Regions from separate parts of the Homo sapiens genome. Here regions 2 and 3 are each linked to region 1. Evidence: promoter capture Hi-C in 16 types of primary human blood cells and fetal thymus (Javierre and others, 2016). All regions are on one chromosome and are shown on one strand. Each heading gives the region's core, a stretch centred on a gene start or on the middle of the fragment in contact. The rest is flanking DNA. Distances are from core to core; before and after follow the strand shown. Region 1 holds the start of COL9A3 (collagen type IX alpha 3 chain). Region 2 has its middle 11 kb from the start of MIR133A2. Region 3 holds the start of SLCO4A1-AS1 (SLCO4A1 antisense RNA 1).

Region 1 (3,046 bases), core at 33-2,532:
CAAAGGGGTGAACTGGACAGACTGGAAGGAGGCTGTGGCCATTGAGGCCGAGCTGGGCAGGGGGGCAGAGGGTGGGTCATGGGGGGCTCTTGGTGCAGCCCTCCACAGCCCTCCACGGGGACCACACAGCGTGGACAGGCCCTGAGGGGACTCCTGCCCTGGTGGTGGTCACATGGGGAGGTTCACCCCAGACGGTCCCTCCGAGGGAGGCACAATTGTAGAATTTCAGCCGCCTCCTCCTGCTGCTTGGCCCACACCAGTCCTGAGATACCCATAGGGGACATCATCTCAGGACTGAGTCGGCTCCTAAGCCCCCTCCATGGCTGGCTCCAGAGCCCAGCAGCCTCCAACAAGACCCCCGGCCCCCAACCACCCAAAGGACGTGCCTCTCCCCACTTCAGCCAGAGGCCAGAACCCCGAACACAGGGGCACGGGCCCCTCAGGGGACCCAGAGACACACACCTCAGTGCCGGCATTCTGGGTGGAGGACCACCACATGACACCCTCCACCCCTACCCACCAGCAGTCCCCGCAGGGCCACCCCCATCCCGTGAAGGCACTGGCTGTCCCCTGATGTCACCCCGGCTCTGGGAGGTGGGGCCTGGTTTTCTCTCCATCAGGCCGGGGAGCTCAGGGAGGTGGGGGCCAGAGCCAGAACCCCAGAGCGCTCGGGGCCCTCCCCACCCCCAAACTCACGTCAATGCCGTCCTGGCCGGGCTTCCCGGGCGGCCCTGGGGGGCCGGGGGGGCCGGGGAGTCCCACTCTCTGAAACGGAGAAAACTCATTAAGGAGCGCAGGTGCCCCCGTGGGCCTGACCCGGCGTCCCCTCCTCCCGGGTCCCGAGCGGCTCCGGGGCCTGCGACGACCGCCGCTCTCCTCGGTGAGACCCAAAGCCTCGGGCGGAGCCCGGCGCCCCCGCGCAGTGTGTCCCCCGCCTCCCTCCGGCGGCGGGAACAAAGGCCCCCTTGTGCTCCCAGAGGAGGCGGCGGCGCCGGCCGACCCGGGCCAGCGAGGACCCATCGAGGACGCGGCCGGACGGGGCTCATCCCGAGGCGCTGGCGACTCCGCGCCCCGACGGCGACACGGGCTGGGGGCGTCGAGGCTGCGCCGGGCACCCCGGAGTGGCGGGTTCGGGGCTGGGGCGGTCGCGGCTCCACGTCCAGCCTCAGAGCCCGGAGCTCGCGCTCACCTGCGCCCCGGCGGCCGCCAGAAGCTCCCCGAGCAGGAGCAGGAGCAGGAGCGGGGCGCACGCGCGCGGCCCGGCCATGGCTGAGCGGAGTCTGAGCTGCGGCGTCGGGGCGGGCGGCGCGCGGGCGGGCGGGGCGGGAGGTGGGCGGCCCCTTCCCCTTCCCCTTCCCGCCCCCGCCTGCACAAGCCCCCCATTCAGCCGGGCCCACCTGGGCGGGGGGGCTTCCACCCGCCCCGCGCCGCCGCCCAGCCCGCCTGGGCGAAAACAAAAAAGACGCCGGGCGGGCGGCGCGTTCTCTCCGGCCGCGAGTTAAAATTATCCTGGGACTGGCGCGTTGCACACACGCAGCTTTGAGCAAGAGAGAAAGACGCTCTTTTCTCTCCTTGCTCCTCAACCCGAGTGTGGGGGCGGAAGCGCGCGGCGCTGAAGGGCCGCCTTCAGGGAGGGGCAGGGGAGACCCGCGAGTTTCCGAAGCCGCAGACCCCTCCCCAGGCGCCGGAGCGGACCCAGGCGACCCAAGGCCCAGGAACACCCCGGGGAGGGTGAATCCCCGGTACCAGGGCCCGGTCAGTGCCCAGCGCAGCCCTGGTTCCCGCTCCGGGGTCACTGTCCAGCGCTGCCTGCTGGGCTGGGAGCACCCCCACCGCGGCCCCTCACCCGTGGACCTGGACGGGCCGGGTGGTCAGGCCACGTCAGTTGCTACCGGCTAAGACCAGACTCCAAACCCAGACTCCCAGGAGAGATCGCAAAACGATGACCCTGGCCGAGGGGAAGAACCCCTCCCCGGGATCCCCGGCCTGAAGGAACCGTGCCCTGGGCAGGAACCTGAAGGCGGTGCTGGCCATGTCCATTTCCCAGAAGCTCAGGGGTCGCCAGGTCCGGCCAAGCTCTGCCTCAGGCTGCCAGGGCAGTCGCTGCCCTAGGGGACTCAAAGCTTCCAGTTGCCTGTAGGCTCAGTGAAGGCGCAGATGCCAGCCCCTCCCCCAGGAATCTTGAAAATTCCCGAGAAAGGCTGCCCTGGGGGTTGTAGGGGGCTGCAGGAGCTTCCTTTCGGCAGGTGGGGACTCATGACTGTTGCAATGCTGTGAGTTAGCAAGGGCGGGAGGGGATGAGAGGGGAGTGGGCGCAAAACTGCTCAGCAGGAGCACCGCACTCTGGCCGGGCGCAGTCAGCCTGGCGACAGAGGGAGGCCTCATCTCTACCAAAAATTGAAACATCGGCCGGGCGTGGCCAGCTTGGAGACAGAGGGAGGCCTCATGTCTACCAAAAATTAAAACATCGGCTGGGCATGGTGGTGCTCGCCTGTAGTCCACGCTACACGGGAGGCTGAGGCAAGAGGATCGCTTGAGCCTGTAAGGTCGGGGCTGCAGTGAGCCAAGACGGCGCCACTGCACTCCTGCCTGGGCAAGAGAGTGAGACCCTGTCTCAAAATAATAGTGTCGCTCTAATCTCTCCCGCGGTGAAGTGAGTGGAGGGAGATTCTCCCTTCACTGCTGGGTGAGCGCGGTGGCTGGGCTGGGAGGGGTGTGTGCGAATTCCATCAGGCGAGGTGGGAGGAGCTGAAAAGGCCCACCCTCCTGAGGAGTCCAAGTCATCCTGGCACAGAGCTTCCTAACAGAGGACTTTTGATTACGGGGAGAGGTGGGTGGAGCAGGTCAGCCCAGACAGCAGGGGGCCTTAGGGGCTCCCAGCACCAGCCCCACCCCAAGCCCAGGGTCTGGGGGACAGGATAAGTCCTCCCTACCAGTTCCACCTGGCAAGATGACCCTGTGGCCAGCCCCCTCCTCAGTGGCTCTCCCCTGGTCCCTGGCCCCACACCCCACTTTGCCTATCCCCATGATGCCCAGCATGCAGTCA
Region 2 (3,046 bases), core at 369-2,868, 240 kb after region 1:
TGTCCTGTGCTCTGTCACCGCGGGGACACCTCTGCACAAGGTCTATAGCCGCTTCTCTGCTCAGGTAGACGCCTGGCTGGGCCCAGCCCTCGTACTCCCTCCTCCACACACAGCAGGTGGGGGCGGGGCCTGCATCAGGTGCCACCGGGTGCTCAGGGCCTGCAGGGCGGAGGCACCTTCTTTGGCGAGTTGCACGTCACCCCAGTCCCCAGGGACCGGGCACCAGCCCCAGCCCTGCTGCCCTCCAGCTGCCCTTGGGCGAGTTGCTGTCCCTTGCTCCCCGAAGGCAGGACAATGCCACCTCCCGGGAGGACGTGTGTGAGCAGCAGTGACGTAGCCACAGGGCAATCATTAGCATATTGTTGTTAATTATTAACATATCAATACAATTAATATGATGCGGCATTAATAATTCATGTGTCGGAGCTCTAGTCTGTGGAGGGCATATTAGAAGCTTGGCAGCTCCATTTTCAGACCAGGGAGTTCCCGAATAGACCAAGTCTCTATGTTAACACCCTCATTCCAAATTGCACCCGGGACCATTAGCAAGTCAACATTTTAATGAACTTGCCGAGGCGCATGACTTAATTGCCCTCATCTTCTAGCTCCAGGTTCTTCAGATGTAGCTGATTCTGTCCTCGTGTGGCCAGAGACTCAATTCCTATGGACTCAGAAGCACGGAGGCGAGAGCCTTCCTGACCCCCAGCCGGGGTCTAGGGTCTCCTGGAAGCTTGCCATGCTGGGGTGCACCCACAGGATCGTCCCTGTACTTTGATCCAGCCCAGGGCTCACTGAGGGTCTGGGAGTCAGCTGGGGCTGGGAGTGAGCTGCAGCTGCTGGGAGCTGTCCACAAGCGGGGTCCTGGAAGGACCTCACAGCCACTGCGCTCTCGCCACTCTGCTTAATAAAAATGGTGTGTGCACTCTGCCTGGTGTGGGCCATGCTTCCTGGGCAGGTTTCCCATGGGTGCAGAAGGTAAATGTTGTGCCCAGGATCCCACATAAACCTGTACCCAGGCCTGAGAAAGATCGGCTGCCTTCCCAGACTGAGCTGTCATTGGGGGTCCTGTCCAGTCTCTTCCCAAACCAAGAGCTCCTTGCACAGGGTGAGAAGGACTTTCCTCTAGGGAACGGCGAGGAAGGAGAGGCAGCTATGGTGTTCGAAGCATCAGGGAGGCTGACGGTGGCCCCAGGCAGGCGGGACCCAGGCACACTCAGGAGGCCTCGGCCACACATCCAGGAGCGGGAGATCAGCACTCTCCCAGCATCTCAAGGGCACGGCCTCCTCCGGCACCCCCTGCCTCAGACTCCCCGCCCCACAACTACCCAGGCCAGGCTGGGAGAAGGAGCAGAGGTGGGGACTAGGGGCCTGCAGCCAGCCTCTGCCCAGGCCGCTTGTGCGGGTGGCGAATGTTGATGTCTTTCAACTGCATGGCCCCACCTGACCCTCCCATGAGGAGGTGAGAGCAGGCTTGAGACATTGGTGGCTTCTCCAAGGCCCCACACCAGGACTTTGCTGAAGGGCTTCGGACCTGAGCCCCGCCACCTGTGGCCTCCAGCTAAGGGTGTGGTGAGGGCTCACAGCGCTGTCCTGGACTCAGTTTTATTTGGTGTGAGCCATGACAGGGCCATCCCACACTTAGACTGGGTTCCGTGAAGGGGAGTGATCTGATGTGGCGCCCTGGCCCGCCCCTCGCGGAGCTCACCTCCCTGCAGCTAATGGAGTGGGTGCAGGGGCGGCGGGCTGCAGCCCCCACAGCATGAGCTCATCCAACTGGGCTGATTCACAACAGAGAGTGCCTGCTCTCCCAGGCTGACAGCGGCGTCTAACAAATGAGAAAATAAGACACTTCCTAGGGGCCATTTCCTCCCACTCTTGGTTCCGGGAATGAAAAGAACTCTCCGAGGGGCTGCGGGGCTTTGCTGCTACTGCTTTGCTGTCTGTCCTCAAGTCAGCTTTGCTCTCCTGAAAGACCCTACACATCCACAACCGCCCCGGGCCCGGTCAGGAGGTCCCTGTGTGCACAAGCCAGTGTGCGTGCAAGAGAGACTGTGAGAGAAGACCCAACACCTGAAACTGCAATTTGGCTCGTTCTGAAGGAGCCTTTGGCCGTGGATGTGATGGATTTATGGGTGACAGGCGCACTTTGCAAAAAAGAAGCGATGAGCAGATGTGCATGCATTATCCACAGAGTGCCACGTGCAGCCTCACGTCCAAAAGATGCAGATGATTTACTCACTGCTGCGTCCACCTGCTGGTGTGAAAAATATGGAAACGCTCCACCCAGAAATTCCCGTGTGGGACTGGGTCTCCCCACCCTGCCCCACCAGGTTCTTTTCCGGTGGGGAGAGCTGAGGAATGGGGTTCCCATAGCAGGAAAAGCCTTGTGATTTGTCAGTGAAACATTTTTATGAAATCACATTCGCCATTTGCTTTTCTCTCAGGTTTTGAGTTGGAGCTCCCTTTGTCTCCCTCATTGCCCCTGGCCATCTCCCGAGAAGCTTATTGACGAAGCTTCACTTAGGTACGGAGGCCCTGGAGGGGCCCTCCTCATGCCCCTGCCCACCTTCCTTGGAAAGCACCCCAGGTAGTCAGGCACCTGCCCCGAGTCACAGGAGGCACCCCCCAGCCCCCCACCTGGGTTCAGTCTCCACTGAACGCAGCATTTCTCCCAGGGGTCTCTTTCACTGTGTCCACAATGCAATCCTGGAAAATGTACAAAATTGACTGTGTACATTGACACACAGATGGTCACCCAGCGTGTCTTCTCCTCCAATGAGGAAACGTGTATTACAGCTGCTATAAAGATACACCCTCTATAGGAAAGTGGCCCCAAACGTCCCAGTCTGCAGTCCACAGCGCCATACCTGCCTCACGTGCCTGTCCCCCGGGCAGCTTGGGCAGTGCCAGCCTTGCCTCTGCGCTGTTCACAGAGCCTGCTTTCTGTCGCTGGCGTTGGCACTCACGTCTTTCTGTTTTCACTCTTAGAAATAAAGTAAGGTCAGAGCACAGGAAAGCAGCTCACCACCCACCCACCACTGTATCG
Region 3 (3,046 bases), core at 204-2,703, 150 kb after region 1:
GCAGTGGCATGGCCAAAACCAGAGGAAAGATTCTGAGGGATACAGCTACAGTCTCGGTACACCTGGGAAGCCCAACAATAGCTCCGATTACAAGGGGAAGGCACGGGGGCCCCTTCCCAGGGTCCAGGGGAGGACAGGGGCGGTAGGCAGCGGCTCCACTCACCTTCTGGCCGTCCACATTCGTCTCCGTGGCTGCAGGGCACCCTGCGTGGCACAGTGAGAAGTACATGAGGCCGTCCGAGCCGCACACAGGGCTGTAGTGTTCTGGCTGGCAGCTGCAGGCAGCGTTGCAGGGAGCCGTTAGGTTCAGGTGGCCTTCGGGCAGGAGGCTGCAGAGGGGGGACAAGCGAGTGGTAGGGTCCAGGCCAGAGCCATGCTGGCGCCCAGCAGGCACAGGGTCAGCCATGGGGCTCGTCCCCATGCAGCCTGCATTTCGGGTCTACAAACTTGCCAAGCTTGCACCGCCCCCAGCACGCTGGGCACTCACACTGGGCACTGCCTTCTGGTGATAGAATGGTTTTTCCTCCTCACGCAAGGAAGGCACACCCATGCCCCCCAGCACCGTCCGCCTGATGCACAGCCCCTTTCCCTAGTTCATTTGTTTTTGGACAGGCAACACATTCATATGGATCAAATACAAACATTAGGAAAGAAAAAGCGCCAAGTACACAAAGGCAGCCTCGTGGCCCCAGCCCCACCCCAGTCCTCGGTTCTCCAGCCACAGGCCGGCTGTGCATTTGCAGGGGTCGTCTGCACGTACACGCCCCTCGGCAGTCACAAACATCTGCACTTCTCACTTGAATCAGAGCACACTGCGCCCATTGTCCAACTCCTTCCTTTTTCCCACTTCACAGTATGTCTTGGCAGTGGCCCAGGATGAGCTTCCTCCACTCCTTTGTGGGCAGGGCCTCTGTTGTGAGGACAGCGTAGTGACCCCGTCCACCCTGATGACTCTTAGGTTCCGATAATGCCACAACGGCTGCTTTGTGCTTCTCGGCCTTGCACGGCACCTGCAGGTGCACTCCCGGGGCCCGCAGGGCAGGGCCGAGGTGCAGGCTACCTACGTGTATTTTGGATATTCCCTAATTGCCACCTGACCAGCAGGTGTCCCTCCCACTCCCAGCACATGGCAACTCCAGGAGCACATCCTGGGACACTTTTTATGTCACCGAGAGACCAGCCTCAAGGACCCCGAACACTAGGGCTGTTGTTCCATTTGACACAGCTACAGAGCAGAGTGCTGAGGCCCAGAGAGGCATATGACTGCCCGGGGGCACAGCCGGGACCCAAGCGCAGGCACTGCTGGGGGCTGGCATGGTGCCTTTTCACGTGGATGCTGCCGGGTGCCCTGCTGAGCGGGTGTTGCCCTTGCCGCTGTCCTGTGACGTAGCCCTTTTCAAAACCACCTCTCCCAAGTGCTGCACCACTCCTCCTCCATGCCCAGGGACCGCGGGTGCTTGGGGCCCCGACGCGTACCCAGGTGCCATCTGGCCCTCACCTCCCGCCGTAGCTGGCTGTGACGCCCGCCATGGGCACACTGGGGCAGTGCAGTGAGAAGACGAGGATGCCCAGCAGGCTGACAACGGTGCAGAACAGGCAGAACTTGATGACCGCGGAGCCCCGGAGCCTGAGCTTGTTCACAAAGAAGCCGCCCAGGAAGGTGCCGCCACCACCCGCTGGCACCACCAGGTACCCTGGGGAGAGGGAGGGATTCAGCCAGGGACTCAGGCAGGGGGCCGTGGTGGGAGAGGGTGGTGGATCAGCCGGGTCCACTTTACAGGTGGGGAAACTGAGGCATAGAGGGATCAATTCCTGCCTGCATGGCAGCACTCAACACCACACCTGAGTGCTTAGCTGTTGCGCTGATAGAGCCCTAGGAGGGACCTCTGTCCAGAGCCCACAGCGGGGATGCCTCAGAGGGGAAGGGGAAGGGGAAGGGGAAGGGGAAGGGGGAGCGGGGGGGCGGGGCGGGGCGGGGGGAGGAGGAGAGCCCAGAGTGCTCCAAGGTCAGCGGCCCCTGCCCCAGTGGGAAGCCAATGACTCCTCCACTGACCCCCCTCCAGGGCAGCCACACCCCCTCCTCCCCCAGGGGCCTCTGCCGAGTCCCTGCAGGCTGTGACAAGGACATTTGTCGAAGCCTGAGTGGCCACCAACAGTAAAAAATTGCGATTAGCTGGCATCTAGCTTCTGGGCTGACAAGTGAGGAGGGCACAGGTGAGGGGACAGGTGGAGAGGGGACAGGTTTGGGGGGACAGGTGGGGAGGGGACAGATTTGGGGGGACAGGTGGGGAGGCTCTCCAAGGGGCAGTAGAGCTGACCTCTGGGGGGCTGTTGAGTGTGGGAATGTGGGCTTGTGAGGTCAGCCCAGAGGGGCCAGGCCAGGATGGGCCTGTGGGGGAGGGAGGGGAGCCCTCATCTGATGCCCTCTTCCTGTCCAGATAGTGGACCCTGGAAGGGTAGAGCGCGGTAGATTGGCGGTGGTGGCCCACATGCCTGGCACCTCTGCCATGGCCCAGGGTACTCTGTGAACGCTGGCAGGAGGAGCAGCTCTGAGGAGGGGTCCCCACTTTCTGCAGACCTGCCCAGCCTGGGAAGGCCAGCCTGCCTCTGGCACCGAGAAACCCCCAGCTGCACTGTTCCAGGAGGTCCTGAGGCACCAGTGCCTGGCTCATGGAACAGCCAGGTCCAAACCCTTCCTGCACCAAGTCACAGAAGCCAAGACTAGGTGGCTAGGGGGTGGAGCCCACCGTGGACCCTTCCACCTACGGAGCATGTCCCACAAAGAGGGCAGGACCACCACTCTCCCGGCCTGTGGACAGAGTCGCTCAGCCCCCGTGGCGCTCTCCACACCTGCTCTGGCAGCGGGGGTGGGAGGGCACTCACTGCCATGTGCCCTGTCTGGGTCTTTCTAGAAGATGCCCTTGAAGACTCTGTTTCTGAGAACTGACATAAAAGCAGAGGACCCCCAAGATTCAGTTTTCTCACCAAACAAGGTGGCAGCTTCTGAGGCACTCAGGCTGAACTGGGACTCCAAGAACTTGGGGCT

What was found. Contacts are between HindIII fragments. The CHiCAGO score rates a contact against its expected background, and 5 or more counts as called.
Region 2: a contact is called between a fragment that was not itself captured here and the fragment with the promoter of COL9A3 in region 1, in 1 of 17 cell types (neutrophils). The highest score is 5.4, in neutrophils.
Region 3: the fragment with the promoter of SLCO4A1-AS1 here is called in contact with the fragment with the promoter of COL9A3 in region 1 in 5 of 17 cell types (monocytes, neutrophils, total CD8 T cells and 2 more); the score reaches 11.7 in monocytes.

Annotation. Positions count from the first base shown.
Region 1 is chr20:62,815,286-62,818,331 of GRCh38, reverse strand. COL9A3 (collagen type IX alpha 3 chain) reads right to left here and starts at 1,282. Exons shown (of 32, transcript NM_001853.4): 1 at 1,190-1,282; 2 at 697-765. The coding sequence starts at 1,267. RefSeq lists enhancers at 1-353, 1,042-1,727, 2,416-3,046. The HindIII fragment of the contact is 2,563 bases long and covers 1-2,125 here.
Region 2 is chr20:62,574,813-62,577,858 of GRCh38, reverse strand. No RefSeq gene overlaps it. Among named protein-coding and RNA genes, the nearest start is that of MIR133A2, 11 kb to the right of the region's middle. RefSeq lists enhancers at 1,154-1,653, 1,654-2,155. The HindIII fragment of the contact is 1,771 bases long and covers 733-2,503 here.
Region 3 is chr20:62,665,028-62,668,073 of GRCh38, reverse strand. It overlaps SLCO4A1-AS1 (SLCO4A1 antisense RNA 1), which reads left to right and starts at 1,453. Exons shown (of 4, transcript NR_024470.1): 1 at 1,453-1,689; 2 at 2,064-2,214; 3 at 2,577-3,046. SLCO4A1 (solute carrier organic anion transporter family member 4A1) reads right to left here. Exons shown (of 12, transcript NM_016354.4): 6 at 2,986-3,046; 7 at 1,499-1,694; 8 at 164-329; 9 at 1-62. The HindIII fragment of the contact is 12,915 bases long and covers 458-3,046 here.